4 separate regions of the Homo sapiens genome follow, and all the other regions are linked to region 1. The links are contacts of gene promoters, found by promoter capture Hi-C in human tissues and cell types (Jung and others, 2019). All regions are on one chromosome and are shown on one strand. Each heading gives the region's core, a stretch centred on a gene start or on the middle of the fragment in contact. The rest is flanking DNA. Distances are from core to core; before and after follow the strand shown. Region 1 holds the start of ZFAND3 (zinc finger AN1-type containing 3). Region 2 overlaps ZFAND3 (zinc finger AN1-type containing 3). Region 3 overlaps ZFAND3 (zinc finger AN1-type containing 3). Region 4 overlaps ZFAND3 (zinc finger AN1-type containing 3).

Region 1 (2,836 bases), core at 143-2,642:
TACTTCTTCCCAAGATGTCCTCACCAGAAACAATCTTCCTTCCTGCCTCTATGTCTCCAAATATACGGAATCTCTCAAAAAATAAAACTAAAACAAAACGATAAAAGAGAAAAGGGACTCAAATCACAAAAGCCAGCCTTCAAAGTCTCCAGCTTTCTTACTGCAGAACTACAGTCATGTGGTATGATGGAGGCACCTGTTAGGTGGCAATCCATGAAGCTTAAAGTGTTACCAGGAGAATTTAAACAGTAATGGGGGGAGGAAGAGGAGCTGATTTCCCACCTCACATTTTTTTCGCCTTAACACATGATGGCCAAACAATATATGCTACCCACTGTCAACATTTTTATCATTTTTACTTAAATTGAGAAAGAGGAGAATTTGAGAGCCAACTGAGGAAACTGGATCTCATATTCCCCAATCCAGGCTGACTTCAGGTTTTGTGTGGTTTTTTTCTTCCTTTTTGACAAGGAAATTTTACATATCTCCTGAAACGTGTTTTACATGAAGGTGAGACCTCAACAATCTTATAACTTTACCCCAGCCTGGTTCTGGACTCGGTTTTTACAAACGGGTGACGTGTGAATAGCTTCCTAAAAGCAAATGGGGCACTGGGATATAATCTAGGAAGTGATGATGCAAGTCTCCGGAGGACGGGGAGGAGGGGAGGTGAAGAAGTCAGAGGAAATACCCTCCTAGTGCCTGGGCACCAACTCACGCCCCGGGAGGGAGGAAGGGCTGGCTTCCACATGCCCACGGAAGGGGCACCCCTGCTCCTCCCGGAGCGGTCAACGCCGCCCCCTCATCCCTCCCCGCCGCCCTGCCCCCCTCACCCGTGGCCCAGGAGGCCCCCGTGGGCCCGAGCTTCAGGCCGGCGAGTCCCAAAGGGTAGCAACGCACCCCCGGCAGGGCCTTCTCTGCCCACCCCCAGCTCCCCACCCGGCACCCCTCCCCGGAACGCGACCCCCACCCCCTCCCCGTAGGCCCGGGCTGGGCCCAGCCTCCAAGGTTCCGGCCTCCCGGGCCCCGAGGCCTGCCCAGGCTGCCCTGGCGTCTGCGCCCCCGGCCCCCGCCCCCCGCCCCCACCCGGCCGGGCACTTACCCCCAGAAGCCGCAGGGACAGCGAGGCGGCAGGCTGGGCGCTTTGCTGCGCTCGCTCCCAGCGTCTCCCATGGTGCTCGGCGGCGGCGGAGCTCGGCGGCGGCAGCGGTGGCGGCGGCTGGGCCCGGGCCCCGCTCTGAGGAGGCGGTGGCGGCGGCGTCGGGGGGCTCGGGGCGGGGGGAGGGGGAAGGAGCGGGCGCGCGGGCGGGCGCGAGTCCGGGGCTCGGAGCCGGGATTCCAGGCCGGTCAGCTGGAGGCGGGCCGCACCACTCGGCCTGCGGAGACGGGGAGGGGGCGGAGAGGCGCGGAGAGAAGAAGGAGGGAGCCGAGGAGGAGGGGCGTGCGGACGCACCGAGGACCGCGGGGGAGGAGGGACACAGACGCCCTCGGCGGGTCTCACCGCCGCTCCCCAGCCAGAGAGATGTCCTGTGCGGTGGCGCAGGGAAGGACCGGAGCCCCCCGCCGGCTCCGGAGTCGCAGCGGCCGCTCTGAAGCCCCGGGCCCTGCTGTCTCCGTAACACCGTCCCCTCCCCCGGAGGCTGCGCTGACCGGACAATGGCCGCTCCGCCCCCTCCCCGGCGTGCGCCCCTCCCGAGGAGTCACAATGGTCTCGCCCGGGGGAGCCAACGCCAAAGCCCAGCCGCTGATCAGCTGGGATCCGGGCGTGCCACTTCGTTCCGCGCCTCAAAGGCGGAGTGCGGGGCTGTGGGAGAAAACGAGAGCCTCGGGCTGTCGCCCGGCGACGGGCGGCTGAGGCCTTCGTATTCTTAGAACTTTTAGAATCTGAAGCAAACTTATCTTCCCCCTGTCTGAAGAAGGGGAGCAGGTTTCTGAGTACTCCGGGGCGCGGTGCCTCCCCCTAAACGCGAATGGTGCGCTCCAAGCGGGAGGGGGAGGAGCAGATTAGTTGTGTAGGGTAAATTGGGCCAGTCCCAGAGTGGCGGCGCATGCGCCCGTAGAACCCGTAACCGAGTGCGAGGAGGGGCCTGGGGGAGCAATGCCAAACGCGGAAGTGGAGCTCTGGCTTCCCGGGGGCGTCGGAGTCAAGGTCCCTGGAGCTGCCGCTCTGGCTCCTGGGCGATTCCGGGGAGCCATTCTCCCCAATTTGCCAACTCCCTGGGCATCTCTCTCTCTCTTCCTGGTCCCGCCACACCCAAACAACTCTTATAGTTCCACCCGGTATACTGGTCTCTTGACAGGAACTTTTGGGAAATGCCCCTCCCCCAGCCCCTTGTCTGGGGCAACTTCCTTGTCTCTTCTCCCCCACCGGTGTTGGGGAGTTCCTTGTCTCCACTCCCAACCACAGAGCCACAAGTACATTATCTATGCCCAGGCGAGTCCCTATGCCCAGGCTAGGAGAGCCGCACTTCTTCCTACAGCTGACACGTTTGGTTTTTGGAGGGGAAAGGGGAGCTGTAGCTGAATCAGTAATGGAAATTGGTAAGTGACCAAAGAAGTTTGAGACACTAAAAAAATGAGTCCTTTAACGATCCTAGTCCTTGATCCTGAGCTCATTCTGATCTCCAGTTAGTCATGAACAGAGAAATCGATTATTGATGACTAATTCAACACGGAGGCAACATCCTCCAGACCTTTTGGAGACCCATCGCTGAGGAAGACTTCCTGGCTCTTAGGAATAGCTGCCGTATACCCTCCTTGCCTGTCGGGTATATCAGAGCCTCAGAGAGACTATTACCTAGATTAATTTGATTACCAAATGTTGCTATCTTATTTC
Region 2 (2,798 bases), core at 274-2,773, 310 kb before region 1:
CACTGAGAAAAACTGTGGAGACAAACACTGAGTCCAGTCCTGTTTCTGACCCTGTCCTTCATGCTCCAATATCAGTTCTGTGGTCTCTGAGAATGAATTTGTTACTGCGGGAGCTGGGCTGCTGGAAAGCTTACATCACAGTGCTCAAATCTGTGAACAGGCTTGAAGAAGAGGATTTGTGACAGACTGCTCCGGAGGGCAGAGTGAGGGGGAATGAGTATGTGTTCTAGAGGGAGGCCAGTTTAAGCTGGGTAGAGGAAGCACCTAGTCAATCTAAGTTGCCCAGCAACAGGAGATGCCATACATCCTCCATGCAGGAGATGCCACACTCCCTCCATGCAGATGTACACAGTGGGACTACCTGCCAGGAAACTGCTGATGGGGTTTATGCAGCGTCAGTTTAGGGGTCTGGACTGGCACCAGATGGATGGCTTCTAAGATACCTTAATTACTTGGATTATATGTCAAGGAATCGCAAGTTTGTTAGGCAGGAATCAGAGACTAGTGCGGTTACACACAGTAGGTCTGTGACCTCCGAAGAACCCATGTATTTTGTTTTCTATGAGACAGGGTCTCACTCTGTTACCCTGGCTGGAGTGCAGGGACATGATCACAGCTCAATGCAGCCTCAAATTCCTAGGCTCAAGCAATTCCTCTCCCTCAGCCTCTGAGTAGTTAGGACTATGGCATATGCCACCACACTAGGCTTATTTTATTTTTTTGTAGAGACGGGTTTTTGCTACATTGTCCAGGCTGGTCTTGAACTCCTGGCTTCAAGCGATCCTCCCACCTTGGCTCTCAAAGTGTTGGGATTACAGGTGTGAGCCACCGCACCCAGCCCACAGAACCCATCTTATTCATGTCCAAGTACTAATACAAACACAGGTTTTATTTGTGCAAGTACACCCTTCCCCAAAGTTGAGTTATTTAATTAAACTCATAAGCATACCAAATAATTTTAATTCAAGCAAGCAAGGACACTACCCTATCTGACAGCATATATGTCTAGTCTGAATTATTTTCTTCCTCTACCAATAAAAATTGGTGGGGGGGAAACACTCTATCTGGATCTTTTTCGTTCAGCCAAATAATCCACTGGGAAATCCTGAGGCTGCACATGTACCCTGGACCTCAAGAATTTACATGGCTACTGGCCCAGAAATATTCCCACTCAGCTGTGGTTGGGCCTGCTTTCAAACACTGTTCCAAAAGGGCTTTCCCCTAATCATAAGCAGCAGGCTCATGAGGACACCACATTTCTTGGACTTTCCATTTTTTCTTGTACATTATTAGTCACCACTGACTGGGCAGCCACTACAGGCCACATACTCCAATAGGGGCTGTGGGAAGTTACAGAGCATCATGTACTCCTGCCTGCTGAGATTTTTTGAGTCTGGCAAGGAAGGGGACAACAGTGGGAGGAAGGTATGTGTTACACACCCAAAAGGTATAAATCTCTAAGTGAGAGAGAATGGAAGTGACTGGAACCAATATGAAACCTCATTGATGTGGGTACTACTCATTTGCAATTTCCAGTAATTCTCTTTGTTTCTAAATTATCTTGGTGTTTCCTATGAACAAATGAGTCTATAAAATGTACAGGCAGTATGGTCTAACTTGGGGGTACATTAAAATTACTTAAAGAACTGCGTTTTTACCTTCTAAAGAAGGACTCTAAAGCGCTGGGCTGAGGCCCACACTTCTTAGAAGTACTCCTTAAGAGGGGAATCACAAACCCAGAAGAAGAAAAGAACCAATATCAGAGTAAAACTAAATGAAACAAAAAAATCACAAAAGATAAATGAAACAAAAAGCTGTTTTTTTTGAAAAGATAAATAAAATTCATAGGCCATTAACAAGATTAACTAAGAAGAGAGAAAATCCAAATAAGCTAAATAAGAAATGAAACGGAAGAGATTACAACTGACAACACAGAAATACAGAGGATCAATCAAGGCTACTATGAACACCATTATGCACATAAACTAGAAAAACCTAGACGAGATGGATAAATTCCTGGAAAGATACAACCCTCCTAGCTTACATCAGGAAGAATTAGATACCCTGAACAGACCAATAACAAGCAGTAAGACTGAAATGCTAATTAAAAATATATCAACAAAAAAAGTCCAAGACCAGACGGATTCACAGCAGAATTCTACCAGACATTCAAAGAAGAGTTGGTACTAATCCTATTGACACTATTCCACAAGATAAAGAGGAAACCCTCCCCAAATCATTCTATGAAGCCAGTATCACCCTAATACCAAAACCAGGAAAGAACATAACCAAAAAAGAAAACTACAGACCAATATCCCTGATGAACATATATGCTAAAATCCTTAACAAAATACTAGCTAACCAAATCCAACAACATATCAAAAAGATAATCCACCATGATCAAATGGGTTTCATACCAAGGATGCAGGGATGGTTTAACATACTCAAGTCAATAAATGGGATATACCACACAAACATAATTGAAAACAAAAATCACATGATCATCTCAGTAGATGCAGAAAAAGCATTCAACAAAATCCAGCATCACTTTATGATTAAAACTCTTACCAAAATCAGCATACAAGGAATATACCTCAATATAATAAAAGCCATCTATGACAAGCCTGCAGCCAACAAAATACTGAATGGGGAAAAGTTGAAAGCATTCCCTCTGAGAACTGGAACTAGACAAGGATGCCCACTGTCACCACTCCTCTTCAACATAGTACTGGAAGTCCTAGCCAGAGCAATCAGACAAGAGAAAGAAATAAAGGGCATCCAAATCATTAAGGAGGAAG
Region 3 (2,886 bases), core at 102-2,601, 270 kb before region 1:
TTATTTGAGAAACCTCCAAACTGTTCTCCATAGTGGTTGTAATAATTTACATTCCCACCAACAGTGTACAAGGAATTCCTTTTCTCCACATCCTTGTCAATACTTGTTATTGCCTGTCTTCTGAATATAAGCCAGTTTAATTGGGGTGAGATGACATCTCATTGTAGTTTTGATTTGTAGTTCTCTGACGATCAATGATGTTGAGCAACTTTTTATATGTCTGTTTGCCATTCATAGGTCTTCTTTTGAGAAATGTCTATTCAAATCTTCTGTCTGTTTTTTTGATCGATTATTAGATTTTGTCCTATTTAGTTGTTGGAGCTCCTTAAATATTCTGGTTATTAATCCCTTGTCAGATGAGTAGTTTGCAAATATTTTCTCCCATTCTCTGGGTTGTCTCTTCACTTTGTTAGCTGTATTCTTTGCTGTGCAGAAGCTGTTTAACCTGATGTGATCGCATTTGTCCATTTTAGCTTTGGTTGCCTGTGCTTGTGGGGTATGCTCAAGAAATTTTTGCCCAGACCAATGTCCTGGATATTTCTCCCAATCTTTTCTTGTAGTAGTTTCATAGTTTGAGGTTTCAGATTTAAGTCTTTAATCCACTTTGATTTTATTTTTGTATGTGGAGAGAGACAGGGGTCTAGTTTCATACTTCTGCACATGAGTATCCAGTTTTCCCAGCACCATTTATTGGAGATATTTTCTTTTCTCTAGTATATGTTCTTGGCACCTTTGTCAAAAATGAGTTCACTGTAGGTGTGTGGATTTGTTTCTGGGTTCTCTATTCCATTCCATTGGTCTACATATCTTTTTATGCCAGTTTGAGGTTGTTCTGGTTAGTATAGCTCTGTAGTATAAATTGAAGTCTCATAATGTCATTCCTCCAGTTTTGTTCTTTTTGCTTACGATAGCTTTGTCTATTCTGGGTCTTTTGTTGTTCCATATAAATTTTAGGATTTTTTTCTATTTCTGTGAAGAATGTCACTGGTATTTTGATAGGGATTGCATTGAATCTGTGCCCACTTTAAACATAAAAATATACTGTCATGAAGATAGCCAGCTAAATATCCAAATACCTTCCAAATAAAATTAAAGGAGATGACTGTAACTCCGGTTACAGTATTTTATTAGCTGAAGGTATAACTTGACGGTTAGAAAAGATGAGGGACAAAAGGGAATCTTCTTGTAGTTTGTTGCCAAGGAAAGTGATCTCTTTCCTTCACAAAATACTTGTTCTTGGCAGGAATGTTGTGAGAATTAACAAGGGAACATGTGGAAAACATTCTGAGCTCTGAAGAAATGTAAACTCTGTCTAGTAATCTGAAGGTATGATGTGCTTTAACTCACACATTCTAACCAAAAGCAACCTAGGACTTGGCAGTACTTTTCAACTCTTCATTGACTGTGGAGATCCTAGAACTCTACAAAGATGGTAGGGGTGGGGTGGAGTGGGAACGACCACACACCCTTCATCTATCTAATTTCTCTCTGTTTAAATACCAAAATGATCATCGTGTTGCTTTTTTATTTTTTTTTAATCTAAAGATTACAATGAGTTTAACTGTTAATAATTCTGTCTGGCTAAAAGCCATCATATAAAGAAAAGTCTTTCCCATCTATCTCACAAAGACAAACTGATCTTTCATTTGCTACTACAGCTACTTTTTGCAATCTGCTTCGTAGACTCACAGTGATCACAAAACAATTTCTTAAAAAAGAGCTGCCTCTCTCATTTTGATAGTTGTAGACCAACCACTCTACACTGCTGCCCACCTCTAAAATATGACAATACCCTTCACCTGATCAAAACAGTAATTGCTTGAAATACAAATGGTGACTGATTAATCAATCACTGAGGTCTTCACTTACTAAACCACATAATAATGGGTCTAATGCTAATCCTTAGAGCTAATTTTCAAAGTACTAAGAAGAAAATGATCTGTTTACTGAAGAAGTCATTAACCTTTTTAAACTGCATAGTCCTATCTAACTGGCCATGTACCTTTAATATGTATATATTTGTGTGTGTATTTGCTGTTTATAAACTGCATGTATGGGCTGAGCACGGTTGCTCATGCCTGTAATCCTAGCACTGTGGGAGGTCAAGGCGAGAGGACTGCCTGAGCTCAAGAGTTTGAGACCAGTCTGGGCAACATAATAAGACCTTGTCTTTATTAAAAAATAAAAATAAATAAATAAATAAAAGTATATGTATGAACACACACACATATAATAAAGTGAATTTGCAAAATATAAATTAAGGCTGAGATAAAGAGCTTTTGCTATTTTCTCCACACACCTCAGACAGTACATTGTGTGCCCTTTGTCAGAGACGGCTGACTTAAAGAACCACCTTAGTCTAATCTCAGTATCCTTGTTCTAACACACATCATTATTAAGCTCAAGGCTGCTTTAGGTCCAACCTTGTATGGATAGATTGGATGGGAGGAGGTAGGTAAGATCTCACTTAAGGTCTCACTCTGTGTCTCCTAAGAAATGACACCACTGTAAAGTAATTATTTACTGACCATCTATGCCTGAAGGCCCATGTGGTTTCTGTCTGGGAGACTACCTCACAGTAGAAGCACTGTACAGCACATGTCATAGATATGAATCCTAACTTGAAGAGCCTAGACATAAAGGCTACAAAGAACATTCCAGCAAAATAACAATAACAATTGGTGGTTCAGAAGAAAAATGATTGAAATCCCCACCATGGGCAACCTGCTGACTGCAGGACACAGAGAAAGATGGAGACAAAGACAGTCAACCTGTGGTTCTCAAAATAAATCATTTCAATTTACCTCTCAAAATCAGGAAGCTCTGTCCTTTAGAGTCAGGGCCAATATTTAAGGCTGAGGCAGTCTGGCTAGCCTAAGAGGGCAC
Region 4 (2,934 bases), core at 4-2,503, 280 kb before region 1:
CTGGGATTACAGGCATGACCCACCATGCCTGGACTTGTACAAGCCTATTTTTAAGGCCACTTATCATGGAAGGTGGATATGACAAAAGAGATTCCTTAAAGTTAAGCTTCCTAATAATTGCAATAATGAACACTAACACAAAGCACATATTCTTTATCAGCACCTTCTAAATGCTCTTACATATATTAACTCATTTTGGTGTTACAACAAGGCTATGAGGTAGCTACTACCTGCATTTCACACATGAGGAAACTGAGGCATTGGTTAAGTGAACTGCCCACAGTCACACAACAAATAAGTGAAGAGTAGCCTGGCCTAGAGTCCTTGCTCTTAACTACTATATATCCTGTCTCCAACAGTTGCTACACTTAAAGATGCTACTTCTGCTTTCCCATAAGAGTACCTTATTACGAAGACAACTTTCTGCTACTTTCTGCGTATACAAAGACCCAGCTGTCTCTGGGATGAGGGCAGGGGACAGATCCTGGGGCAAATATAGGAATGAAAACAAGCTCCTCTATTTCATAAAATTATCTTGTCCAAATATGATTATTAATTTATCTAGGATATATCTCTGCTGAATAAATCTACTTGTTCTCTGCTCTTAGAATATGATTTATAAGACTTCTCACATGATTTTCTTTCCACTCCTGCTAACTCTCTGGATTTCTGTGGACTGTAGTCATATAGTACTTAATTTATTCATTATCTTCTTTTCTGATGTACAACATCATTCCACCAGTCATATCTTAGGCTTAATCTTGGATTTAGATACTTGCATGTTATTTTTAAAGACTTCATCCACAAAAGTTTCTTTACTGATTACTTGTAGGATACAAAAAAAACTTCTCCCCATTAGCACAAGAAAACCTAGGTATTTTCATTTGAAATTTTATTGCTTTTAATTATCAGATAAGGCAAAACATGTCTTCTCAGCTTTATATGGGTCTCACAGGCAGAAGTCAAAGCTTCCTCTTCTCAACCACCCCGAGAGTGTCCTACAGCTCATACGCGAGGTCTCTTTACCAAAAAGGCACAGATGAGGATGGGTTCATTGAAAAACTGCAGCCACCATCCCTGTTTGTTAAGTGCCATTTCCACTGCACTAATTACTGAAAGGGCATTGCCAGGAGCTAAATTCCTCAAAGAGGTGTCTGGTCAGTGGAACCTGTCAGGCTAGCAATACAGCAGTCATCCTTTGTGGCTGATACTTAGCCTAGCACCATTTCCTTGTTTTAGCTTCTCCATATCAGCAAGACCTCTCCTGCCTGCCCAACTATATTACTTTTTTCTCATAAAGTTTTCAGTTCTCATTGTAAATGACAAATGAACCTCAATAGATAACCTTTCCTTTTTATAACATGCTTGGGCATTTTGGAGTTCAACAACATTACAATGCATTGATGTTTAAAAATACTACATTTATAGCATCAGTGGAGTACCGAATAAGGTAGTACTCTAAGTTAAGACAAAACAGACAGAAAAGCAAAACTGAAAAACCTAACAGAAAAATCTACTTCTCAAAGTCCACATGCCCAAGTCCCCTAATTTTAATCTGTTCCTTGGCCCCAAGTCAGTCTATAACCATAAGAATTCAAAGATTTGTACAGTGTTCGTACAGTGTTAAGACTAGATAGAACTTCAGTTCTACTATCTTTTGCAGTATTTATCAGAAGAGCAAAATCAGCCAAGATTTTTCATCTGCCAAAAGAGAGAAACTTGAGAAGTCCGTGAAGTGTGTATGTATGTATGTGTGTGTGTATATATATGTGTATATATACACGTGTATATATATACACGTGTATATATGTGTGTATATATATACACGTGTATATATGTGTGTATATATATACACGTGTATATATATGTGTGTGTATATACGTGTGTGTGTATATATATGTGTGTGTGTATATATATATTGTGTGTATATATATATATATATATACATACACACACACACACCCAGATTTATTTTCATATACGGTTAAGTCCTCAATGTTGCTGACAGGCTCTTAGAAACTGTGACTTTAAGGAAAACAACATATAACAAAGCCAACTTTTTTTCTCATAACGTCATAACCAAATGATGTTATCTGAGGACCTGTTGTCGTTCCCCTTAAAGTCGCAGTTTGAAAGAATCAATCAACAACATTAAGTGAGGACTTACTGTAACTGTGTTTAAGATGGGCAATGCTGTTTTCATTTTCTTAGAACATTCATTTAGAAGTTAAACTTCCAGCCAGGCGCGGTGGCTCACGCCTATAATCCCAGCACTTTGGGAAGCCGCAGCAGGTGGATCACCTGAGGTCAGGAGTTCAAGACCAGCCTGGCCAACATGGTGAAACCCCATCTCTACTAAAAATACAAAAATTAGTTGGACATGGTGGCACGCGCCTGTAGTCCCAGCTACTCCAGAGGCTGAGGCAGGAGAATTGCTTGAACCCAGGAGGCGGAGGTTGCAGTGAGCCGAGATCGCGCCACTGCATTCCAGCCTGGGGGACAGAGCAAGACTCTGCCTCAAAAAAACAAACAAAAAAGTTAAACTTTCTAGAAATACAGAGTAAGTCTCCTGCCTACTCTGTAGTTACGTGAAGCCTAGAGGCATTTAAATTCAGCCTTATAAAATTATACAACTTTTGGGCAGCTGGATAGTACCTGCAACTGTGGGCACTTCCTCCTACTGTTGACTTATATTTGGACAGGTCTGGAGGGAAGAGACAAGCTAGAAGTCTTCGAATAATGCTGTACCCCAACACCTTGGTCTCTAAGTATAGATGACTTGCCCAGGGGTTAACCTAATCTGGCCCTGAGTCCTTTGCCAAAAAGACTGAAAATAGATTTCCTTTATGGAGAAACACTGAGTGTAGGGGTGAGGTGGGGAAATGGGTAAAGATGAATGAGACACTAATTCAAGTAAATTTTCTGAATTTTTAT

What was found. The method cuts DNA at HindIII sites, captures the fragments that hold promoters and counts their contacts. A contact is called where the count stands out against the background at its distance.
Region 2: a fragment that was not itself captured here is called in contact with the fragment with the promoter of ZFAND3 in region 1 in 2 of the 25 tissues and cell types used here (IMR-90 fibroblasts and dorsolateral prefrontal cortex).
Region 3: a fragment that was not itself captured here is called in contact with the fragment with the promoter of ZFAND3 in region 1 in 1 of the 25 tissues and cell types used here (hippocampus).
Region 4: a fragment that was not itself captured here is called in contact with the fragment with the promoter of ZFAND3 in region 1 in 4 of the 25 tissues and cell types used here (adrenal gland, dorsolateral prefrontal cortex, hippocampus and 1 more).

The regions. Positions count from the first base shown.
Region 1 is chr6:37,818,283-37,821,118 of GRCh38, reverse strand. ZFAND3 (zinc finger AN1-type containing 3) reads right to left here and starts at 1,392. Exons shown (of 6, transcript NM_021943.3): 1 at 1,103-1,392. The coding sequence starts at 1,173. ZFAND3-DT (ZFAND3 divergent transcript) reads left to right here and starts at 1,732. Exons shown (of 2, transcript XR_007059569.1): 1 at 1,732-2,541; 2 at 2,629-2,836. RefSeq lists silencers at 766-935, 1,096-1,325, 1,366-1,745 and enhancers at 1,024-1,826, 1,796-2,185. The HindIII fragment of the contact is 25,591 bases long and covers 1-2,836 here.
Region 2 is chr6:38,130,272-38,133,069 of GRCh38, reverse strand. The region is part of intron 5 of ZFAND3 (zinc finger AN1-type containing 3); the gene reads right to left. LOC124901314 (a long non-coding RNA gene) reads right to left here. Exons shown (of 2, transcript XR_007059570.1): 1 at 1-2,798. Among named protein-coding and RNA genes, the nearest start is that of ZFAND3, 310 kb to the right of the region's middle. The HindIII fragment of the contact is 3,667 bases long and covers 1-2,798 here.
Region 3 is chr6:38,084,910-38,087,795 of GRCh38, reverse strand. The region is part of intron 4 of ZFAND3 (zinc finger AN1-type containing 3); the gene reads right to left. Among named protein-coding and RNA genes, the nearest start is that of ZFAND3, 270 kb to the right of the region's middle. The HindIII fragment of the contact is 5,011 bases long and covers 1-2,886 here.
Region 4 is chr6:38,102,360-38,105,293 of GRCh38, reverse strand. All of the region lies in intron 4 of ZFAND3 (zinc finger AN1-type containing 3), which reads right to left. Among named protein-coding and RNA genes, the nearest start is that of ZFAND3, 280 kb to the right of the region's middle. The HindIII fragment of the contact is 4,358 bases long and covers 1-2,934 here.